Linked DNA regions of Homo sapiens: region 1 is linked to region 2. Evidence: promoter capture Hi-C in human tissues and cell types (Jung and others, 2019). All regions are on one chromosome and are shown on one strand. Each heading gives the region's core, a stretch centred on a gene start or on the middle of the fragment in contact. The rest is flanking DNA. Distances are from core to core; before and after follow the strand shown. Region 1 overlaps DNAAF9 (dynein axonemal assembly factor 9). Region 2 holds the start of FASTKD5 (FAST kinase domains 5).

Region 1 (4,940 bases), core at 1,003-3,502, 150 kb after region 2:
GGTGGTGGAGCCAGGTACAGAACACAGGTTTGTCTGATGCCAAAGACACTATACCATGCTGGTGCCTTCAGTTCTCTCATGTTTTTTTTCTTTCAATTCTCCCCTGTCCAAAGCCCAGCTGTGGTGAATCTGTAGATGTGCCTTCTCTGCTCCCTCAACCACAACAGGCCACAGTGCTGCCCCGTAGCCTGTTCACTGCTGTCTCCCCACTCCTTCCATCAGCCCACAGAGCTCATCCCAGACCTTCAACACTCTCCTAAAACCACAACCCCACCAACTCCTGCCACAAGATGACTCTACTTACTGTTTCCAGAGATAAGAGGGCTCCATAGGTGTCACGAGGTAGAAACTGCTCCTGCTGCTGAGTGGTTAGTACCTGCACCCTTCCCTGTCCTGGGTATCCCTCTACATTTGTACTTTTGAAGTGAACCTTTTTAGAAACAAGTCCAGTGCCACTTGAAAGGCCTCCTGGACAAAGCTCAAAATCCTGAAGCTTCCAGAAAAAAGCACAGATTGGAGAAGCTGGCACATTCCATTTACTCAATAGGAAGATGGGAAAGGATGAGCGAGGTCATCTCCAGCATTTCCTCTCCCACTAGACTCTGAAGCCTCAAAACAAAATGGAAAAGAGGAAGACAAATTCACAAGACAGTGCTGGAAGAGCTCATTATGGGGCATGAGCCAAGGCAAGGTCTCAGTAAACAGGATCTGATTTCAGTACTGTCCTGTGATCTGTCCTGTGATCGCAGCTGCCCCTTAGCCTGGCTCTATGAGCAGTAACTCTGCCATTATTCTCAGAGCACACATGAGATAAGTGAAGTGACTTACTGGGTGGCCCAGTGCCTGTGCTCTGGTCTCAGATCCTCATCTGCTTGAAGCAATAACCCTTCTGGTATCTGCTCTGGACTCTTGACTGTCAGACAGTGGTCTGAGGGCCATACCTTTGCAGGGGTTCACAGGGGCCAGGGCAGCCAACTCCTGAGGAGATCTCCCTGACTCTTTGTGCCATCCTTGGTGTCCTTAGTGGATGAACTCTGTCCTTCCTTCTCCATTCTGTAAGTCTGAAAACCCAGGATAAGAGGAAGTTTCCCATTATTGTCCCAAAACCAGGAGGACTGCAGTTTGGTTGTCTTTGATTGAGCTCTGTATCCCTGGAAGTCCAACAAAAGAGGGATGGGCCCTCAGGGTAAACCAAAATACCAAGCAAATGCCAAAGAAGAATTTCGCTTTCCTCTTTCAGAAAACTGGCTGTACAAATAAAAATCTTCCAACAGCCCAGTCTATGTGAGGAGGGAACATTTATCACTGCTGGGGAAATTTATGATGCAATGGCTAGATGATTTTCATCCTGTGTCTATAAATGTGTGTGAAATGTACACACAAGGTTTAAAAAAAAAAAAAAAAAAAAACTAAAGCAACAACTACAAAACCCAGATGTCTATGAACTCACCACTGGGCCTAAGAAATTGAGCATTACTAGCACCGTTGAAACCCCCTGGATGTCCTTCCTCAATGAGAGCCCTTCTCTTCCACCCAGGGGGAACAGCATCCTGAATTCTGGATGGTTTTACCACACTTGAATGTATTTGTAAACTGTGTATTACTTAGTTTTGTCTGTGTTTTTATATAAATGAAATCCTAATCATGTATTCTTCTGTGACTTGCTTACTTCTCCTGACATTCTGTTCCTGAATGTGACCTATGTTACAAGTAATATGCAGCTATACAGTTCCTTCATGCTCAGTGCTGTACAAAACTTTACTTTTTTTTTTTTTTTTTTTGAGATGGAGTCTCACTCTGTTGCCTTGGCTGGAGTGCAGTGGTGCCATCTCTGCTCACTGCAATCTCCGCCTCCCAGGTTCAAGTGATTCTTGTGCCTCAGCCTCCCAAGTAGCTGGGATTACAGGCATGCGCCACCACGGTCCAGCTAATTTTTGTATTTTTAGTAGAGATGGGGTTTCACCACGCTGGCCAGGCTAGTCTCGAACTCCTGACCTCAGGTGACCTGCCCGCCTCGGCCTTCCAAAGTGCTGGGATTACAGGTGTGAGCCACCGTGCCAGACCAAAACCTTCATTTTTAAAGTGTCCCTCCAGCCAGGTGCGGTGGCTCCCTCCAGCCAGGTACAGTGGCTCACGCCTGTAATCCCAGCACTTTGGGAGACTGAGGTGGGAGCTTCACGTGAGGCCTGGAGTTTGAGACCAGCCTAGCCAACATGGTGAAACTCCATCTCTACTAAAAAAAAAAAAAAATTAGCCAGGTGTGGTGCCACATGCCCACATGACTCCTCCTCCATGCATACATGGTAGGGGCTAAGCTCTCTGGTAGCTCTTATAAGGGCACCACATCCCAACAGACCTTGTCCCACATTCATGACCTCATCTAACCCCTATTTCCTTCCAAAAGCCCCATCTCCAGATAACATCACTTTTGGGGTTAAGGCTTCAACACTGGAATTTTGGAGAGGACACAAACATTCAGTCTCTAATGTGATAAGGCAAGTTCCCACCTTGTTTTTCTTCTTCAGGAGTATCTTGGCTGTTCTTAGCACTTTGCTCAAAGTTATTGACATTTTTATGTTGGCTTTTCAGGATTTTCAAAAAACTTGTTGGTTTTTTTTTTCCTGAAATTATGTTAAATTTAAAGATCACTTTGGAGAGAATTGTCATTTTTACCATGTCAAGTAAGTAAACCTGAGTTTTCCAGTCCATGAATGGGATGTGTGTTTATGTCATTTTTAATGCCTTTTAGTATAGTGTTATAATTTTCTCAGCCTCCAGACTGTGAGAAATAAATTCCTACTGTTAATCCACTCACTCTGTGGTATTTTGTTATGGCATCCCAAGCAGACTAAGTCACCATATAGAAATATGTTATCTATCTAAAATAAGACAATGTGTTATTTTCTTTCCCAATGGAACAGAACAGAGAGCCTATTAATAGATGCACACATAAAGAGACTTGATTTATAACAAAGCTGGCACTGCCGATCAGTGGGAAAACAATGATTTTTCAATAACTTTGCTGAGACAGGTGGCTACCTACATTTAAAAAATGAACTTAGACTTCTATCTCATATCACTTTCACAGAGCAATCCAGGTGGATTCTTTGAAAAATTATATTTTTATAATTCAACAGAAAAGTCTCAATAGATCTAAAATATATGAATCACATAGGAAATGATTAATTATCCTGATTACATTAAAACTAAGAACTTTTATTCATGAAAAAGCATCAGAAATAAAATAAAAAGACAAGCCACCAGGTGAAAGAAAATATTTGCAATATACTGAATTGACAAAGAATTAGTATCCAAAATCTATAAAGAATTCCTGGCTGGGCGCAGTGGCTCACGTGTAATCCCAGAACTTTGGGAGGCTGTGGCAGGCAGATCACCTGAAGTCGGGAGATTGAGACCAGCCTGACCGACATAGAGAAACCCTACCTCTACTAAAAACACAAAATTAGCCGGGCATGGTGGTGCATGTCTGTAATCCCAGCTACTCGGGAGGCTGAGGCAGGGGAATCGCTTAAACCTGGGAGGCAGAGGTTGCAGTGAGCCAAGATCGTGCCATTGCACTCTAGCCCAGGCAACAAGAGTGAAACTCCATCAAGAAAGAAAAGAAAGATGAACAAACGAACTAATGATCGAGAGAAAGAGAGAGAAACAGAGAGAGAGAGAGAGAAAGAAAGAGAAAGAAAGGAAAGAAAGAAAAGAAAAAAGAAAAGGAAAGAAAGAAAGGAAAGAGAAAGAAAAAGAAAGAAAGAAAGAAAGAAAGAAAGAAAGAAAGAAAGAAAGAAAGAAAGAAAGAATTCCTAAAATAGGCCAGGCGCAGTGGGTCACGCCTGTAATCCCAGCACTTTGAGAGGCCGAGGTGGGCAGATGACCTGAGGTCAGGAGTTCAAGACCAGCTTGGCCAACATGGCGAAACCCCGTCTCTATTAAAAATACAAAAATTAGCTGGGCCTGATGGTGCACGCCTGTAGTCCCAGCTACTCGGGAGGCTGAGGCATGAGAATTGCTTGAACCTGGGAGGTAGAGGCTGCAGTGAGCTGAGATTGCGCCACTGCACTCCAGCCTGGACAACAGAGTGAGACTTAGTCTCAAGAAAAAAAAAAAAATTCCTAAAATAAACAAGAAAAAGGCAATCTAAAAGAAACATGAGCAAAAAACAAGAACAAGCATTTAACAGAAGGGAAGTATAATAGCTTGGCCAATAAATAAAGACGGTTCACTAATAATAAGAGAAATGTAAATTAAAATCCTAATAATAACAGCACTGCACACTCACCACAGTGGCAAAACTGGCAAAACAGCAAGTGTTGGCCAGAATATGGAAAAACTCAAATACCTGTATGCTGCTGCTGGAAGTATAATTTGGGACAATCAATTTGTAAAACAGTCTGGCCTCATCAAAAAAAGCCATATGTGGGCTCATACTAAAATTCCAAATTTTTACTCTTCATTCCAACCCTACAGAAACATTTGCCCATGTGGACCAAGAGACATGCACAAGAATGCTCATAACAGTACAGTCTGCAATACCAAAAAAAGCCTATATTTACTTATTTATTTTTTAGAGTTAGGGTCTTGCTCTGTCAACCAGGCTGGAGTACAGTGGTGAGATCATAGCTTACTGCAGCCTTGAACTCCTGGGCTCAAGCCACCCTCCAGTCTCAGCCTTCCAAGTAGATGGGACTACAGGAATATGCCACCATGCCTGGCTAATTTTTTTTTTTTGGGTAGAGATGGGGTCTCACTGGTCTTGAACTGTGGGCTCAAGCAATCCTCCTGCCTCAGCCTCCCAAAGTGCTGGGATTACAGATGCTGGCTAATTTAAAAAATTCTTTTGTAGAAACAAGAGTCTCACTCTGTTGCCCAGGCTGGTCTTGAACTCCTAGCTTCAAGTGATCCTCCCACTTCAGCCTCCTGAGAAGCTG
Region 2 (5,012 bases), core at 915-3,414:
TACAAAATCCAGGCAGGTAAAGAGAAGTAGCTGCATGCACACAGTCGTCATAAGAGAAAATTCCCAAATAAATGGTCCAAGTACCTATAACTGTTAGCTCAATAAACACTTGGTTTTATCTGCTTTTACAATTTGCAAGGCTGTATAGAGGCTGTATAGTACATACTTCAGACAAATAAAGAAGGAGTTTCAGAATTCTTTTGTTTTTTTTTTCAGACAGGGTCTCGCTCTGTTGTTCAGTCTGGAGGGCAGTGGTGCAATCTCCGCTCACTGCATCCTCGACCACTGCCCCCCACCTCTCACCCCGGCAACCTCCCGGGCGAGGATCGCTCAAGGATCTCAAACGATCCTCCCACCTCAGCCTCCTAAGTAGCTTGGACTACAAGCCCACCACCACGCCTGGCTACATTTTGTTTTTTTGTGTGTTTTTTTTGTTTTTTGTTTTTTTCGTAGAGACAGAGTTTCCCTATGTTGCCCCCAGGTTGGTCTCGAACTCCTGGGCTCAAGTAATCCTTCCACTTCGGCCTCCCAAAGTGCTGGGATTACAGGCATGAGCCACCGCACCTGACCTTAGAATTATTTTATATCAAAGTTGACTTATTCACATGATGAATGGCAAGGCCTTATTAGGGACTAAAAAAATAAACCAATGGATGGGGAAGAAAATCATACTGACTAATAAACATTAGACCTGCATAACTGCCAAAGGCCTCACTTTTTAAGTTATGTTATGCAGCACAGAGTCTTCAGATTTTATTTACTTATTTATTTATTTATTTATTCATTTATTTGAGACGGACTCTCGCTCTCTCGCCCAGGCTGGAGTGCAGTGGCGCGATCTCGGCTCACTGCACACTCCGCCTCCCGGGGTTCACGCCACGCTCCTGCCTCAGCCTCCAGAGTAGCTGGGACTACAGGCGCCCGCCACCACGCCCAGCTATTTTTTTGTATTTTTAGTAGAGACGGGGTTTCACCATATTAGCCAAGATGGTCTCGATCTCCTGACCTCGTGATCCGCCCGCCTTGACCTCCCAAAGTGCTGGGATTACAGGCGTGAGCCACTGTGTCCGGCCCAGATTTTATTTTAGTCTACCAGGTAGTAGCAAACTATCCAAGGACTTGCCCAGGACCATTCAGGTCAGTGAGCTACAGAATCTAGTTCTGGAAAGGCAGCCATTCTTACTATTCACAAAGTGTAGAAAACGTGAATTCAGATTCCAGCAGCAACAAATGACTGGAGCACAAAACGCCAGCCACAGTTGGTGCTAACGCAGCTGGCTATCAGCTCCACAGGATGAAGCACTGTCCAAGGGTCTGATCAGTGAAGCATCACCCAAGACTGATGAACACAGCTGATATGAGGGGACCCAAAGTTCCCTGAGTCAAGACAGAAGAGCTGTGTCACGGTTTGCACAGAAAGAGAAAGAGCAACTATTCTTACCCACGGAAAGAAAAAGGGAGAAGGCCATCAATACTACCCTTAGGCTTGTGCAACGAGAAACTGCTAAAAATGGGGGGAAGGTATATATCCTATCATACTGATGTTTACCGAAGACTCCGCATCCCAAATGCTAAGCAACATACTGTAGGGCCTTGCTACTCAGTGTGTGGTCTGCGTGCCAGAGGCTTCAGCCTCGTCTGGAATCTAGTTAGGAACACAGTTATCTCAGAACCCACCCCAGTCCTACAGAATCAGAATCTCTAAGCGATTCGCAGGCACATCAAAGTGTGATGAGAGGCGCGGCAGAATATCTGACTACATTCTCTTAACAGCACCGTGAGACAAGTACTGTTACGATCTCCATTTCACAGAGGAAAAAAAATCAAGGGTCAGATAAGCCCCCTGCCAAAGATCACAAACTCAGGAGCGGCGAGAGTCACTGAAGTTCTCACCACAGCCAGGCCTGCGAGAGGCACTGGCAACCCAGGCCAAGAGCTGAACAAGGCCTCGATGCGCTCCAGCTCTGGGCCGGCCGGGAGGACAGGAGGCACAGGCCAAGGCCCAGGACGGTCGTGAACGCGGAAAGAGGCCGCCGCGACCTCCTCCCCGGCCGCCGCCACTCACCTGATCCTCCCGAAGGTGGGCGCCGCAACACCAAACCGGGGACGCCGCGGGCGGCGGCGACACAGATACTGGCTCCTCCGGCGACTCCGAGCCTCACAGCCCCACTTCCGGCCAACTGCCCGCTACTTCCGCCTGCTGCGCGAGTGACGGATGCGGCCGAGGCTCAAAAGACTCTGTCAGCGTTTCCCAAGGACATTTTCCACTGGAGGACGTTGTTGAGGAGGCAGGGGGAGTCTAGGACCTGCAGAGGGAAAACACCTTCCTGGATGGATCGCTCTGGAAGTCATTAAGCAGCTTAGTCCCGGCGCGGTGGCTCACGCCTGTAATCCCAGTACTTTGGGAGGCCAAGGCGGGCGGATCACCTGAGTTCAGGAGTTCGAGACCAGCCTGGCTAACGTGGTGAAACCCCCGTCTCTACTAAAAATACAAAAATTAGCCGGGCGTGGTGGCGCACGCCTATAATCCAGCTATTCAGGAAGCGGAAGCAGGAGAGTCGCTTGAACCCGGGAGGCGGAGGTTGCAGTGAGCCGATATCTCGCCACTGTACTCCAGTCTGGGCACCCCTGTACTCCAGCTCTGGGACACAGAGCGAGACTCCATCTAAAAAAAAAAAAAAAAAAAAAAAAGTAAGTAGCTTAGACACATGTTCAAATCTGAGGACCACCACTCAGGGTTTTATGGCCTTGGAGAAGTCACATAAATTCATTCTTGTTATATTATTATTATTATTTTCATAGAGACGGGGATGGCAGTGTCTTCCTATGTTGCCCAGGCTAGTCTCGAACTCCTGGGCTCATGCAATACTGCCGCCTCAGCCTCCGAAAGTACTGGGATTACAGGTATGAGCCATCGCACCCGGCCCACATAAATTCTCTAAGCCTGTACAGTGAGAAAAACAATACATTTTTTTTTTTTTTGAGACAAAGTCTTGCCCCATTGCCCAGGCTGGGGTGCAATGGTGCAATCATGGCTCACTGCAGCCTCAACCTCCTGGGTTCAAGTGATCCTCCTGCCTCAGCCTCCTGAGTAGCTAAGACCACAGGCATGCACCACCACACCTGTCTAATTTTAACAATGCATTGGTCGGGTGTGGTGGCTCACACCTGTAATCCCCGGTGTTGGAGACCGGCCTGGCCAACATGGTGAAACCTCGTCTCTACTAAAAATACAAAAAAAAATTAGCGGGGCATGGTGGCGTGCACCTGTAACCCCAGCTACTTGGGAGGCTAAGGCAGGAGAATCACTTGAACGCAGGAGGTAGAGGTTGCAGTGAGCCGAGATTGCACCACTGCACTCCAGCCGGGGCAACAGTGAGACTCCATCTTTTTTTTTTTTTAATGCATTTATAATAGAGATGTATCTGTAAAGTGCTCTCAGGAAAAGAGCTAGTGACATGATGGATAGATGAGCCTGCTGAGAGAAATGGATGTGGAGCTGGGGCTTAGCGAGGCCAGAGCTATGGAGCATGAGCCAGGGTGATTCTCCACCACCCTAAGAAGGAGGGCTGGGTCCTACTGGGTACATATATTGACACAGCTGTCAGTATAGGTACCTAGACAAGAAAGAGACTCTACTAAACCTCTACCTATCAGAAAGTCCTGGCCCCAGGCTGCCATTCCTGAGGGCACTTGAGATCTGCTGATCAGGGTCTTCATATCTTGTCAATGCCTTGGCTCTAAGGGGTGTGAAGGAGAGCTGAGAAATCATGCTCCCTCCAGGGCCTATCTTGTAGGGAAGACAAAATCAATGTAGGAAGAACACGTCCCTGCCAGGAGGGGCAAGCCTGACATCCCAACTCCTGAGCTCTGGAGACAGCGCTGTTTGAATATCTGGAGCCCCAGACCACAGACACCACTGCTTAGGGAGGGTTCTCTCCCTCAGGCCAGACCAGGGCAAACACTATTCATTGTTATGACTCTGTCCTTGCCAGTAGAACCCAGAGAAAGCAGAGAGCCTGCCCCCAAGGAATGAACCATGTTTGTTCCTAGGCAGCCATGACAATCCTGTTTCTCTTTGTAATACTCAAATTCCCATTCTCCCTTGAAGTGGGAGGAGCATGTGGCTCAGTTCTGGCCAACAGGACTTAAAGGGAAGGGTCCTGGGAGGGCTCTGGGAAAGCTTTTACTTTTCATGATAAAGTAGGGCCGCCTCAATGTCTTCATGGAGCTGTGGCAGCCACTTTGTGGTAAGGAGGGAACAACATGCCAAGGATGGAACAGTGGGAGGATGAAAATCTAGGTCCCCGAGGATCCAACAACCATGACACCACCTCCGGATTTCTTGTCAGGTTGGGGAAAAATAAACCACTCTTTGAGGTCCTTTGATTACTTACAGCAGAGTGCATTCTTGATTGTGTGCTTTGAGAGGATGACAGAGGAACTGTTGTAAAGGGAAGCTCTCTGCTGTGCAGCACGCTTGGGTCCCTTTTGCCTTTGGGGCTTCGCCATTAATTGCAAACCTGTTCCCAGTCTTCACTTCTATCCATTCAGCCCGCAAACATCTACCAGTTGCTGTAAGGTGGCTTAGGCGACTGCAGGCTGCATCTAGCTGTCCTGCGTCACCTGTTTTCTGGCTAGCAGCTTAGTGTCCAGATTCTGAGCTGGAGCCAGCTTTTAACCCCTTTGGCAACAGTCTGAGCTGAAGAGAAAGCCCCACTGGGCATATACATGGCACCACGACTCTTCCCGGGCAACGTGGCAGAACTTGGGCTTTGGGCCAACCTCCTAGCACGGCCCAGTGAGCACCTCCAGTCTCATGCCTCCTCTGGGAAATCTGTTTACTCCAGCTTTGCCCCCATCCCCCACCCGGGCCTCACCTCCCGCACCTGCAAAGACACAAGCAGGCCAAAGAATACCACTCAAGAGGCTTTTTCCGTTTTATTTCTTTGGGAAAGGAAAACAAAAAGTCTTTCCATCACATATGGTAGAGATATATATTTATATATATT

What was found. Contacts are between HindIII fragments. The study calls those that stand out against the background at their distance.
Region 1: a fragment that was not itself captured here is called in contact with the fragment with the promoter of FASTKD5 in region 2 in 1 of the 25 tissues and cell types used here (stomach).

The regions. Positions count from the first base shown.
Region 1 is chr20:3,306,580-3,311,519 of GRCh38, forward strand. All of the region lies in intron 20 of DNAAF9 (dynein axonemal assembly factor 9), which reads right to left. Among named protein-coding and RNA genes, the nearest start is that of SLC4A11, 70 kb to the left of the region's middle. The HindIII fragment of the contact is 8,715 bases long and covers 1-4,940 here.
Region 2 is chr20:3,157,701-3,162,712 of GRCh38, forward strand. FASTKD5 (FAST kinase domains 5) reads right to left here and starts at 2,165. Exons shown (of 2, transcript NM_021826.5): 1 at 2,066-2,165. UBOX5 (U-box domain containing 5) reads right to left here and starts at 2,165. Exons shown (of 5, transcript NM_014948.4): 1 at 2,066-2,165. LZTS3 (leucine zipper tumor suppressor family member 3) reads right to left here. Exons shown (of 5, transcript NM_001365618.1): 5 at 4,917-5,012. The HindIII fragment of the contact is 11,638 bases long and covers 1-5,012 here.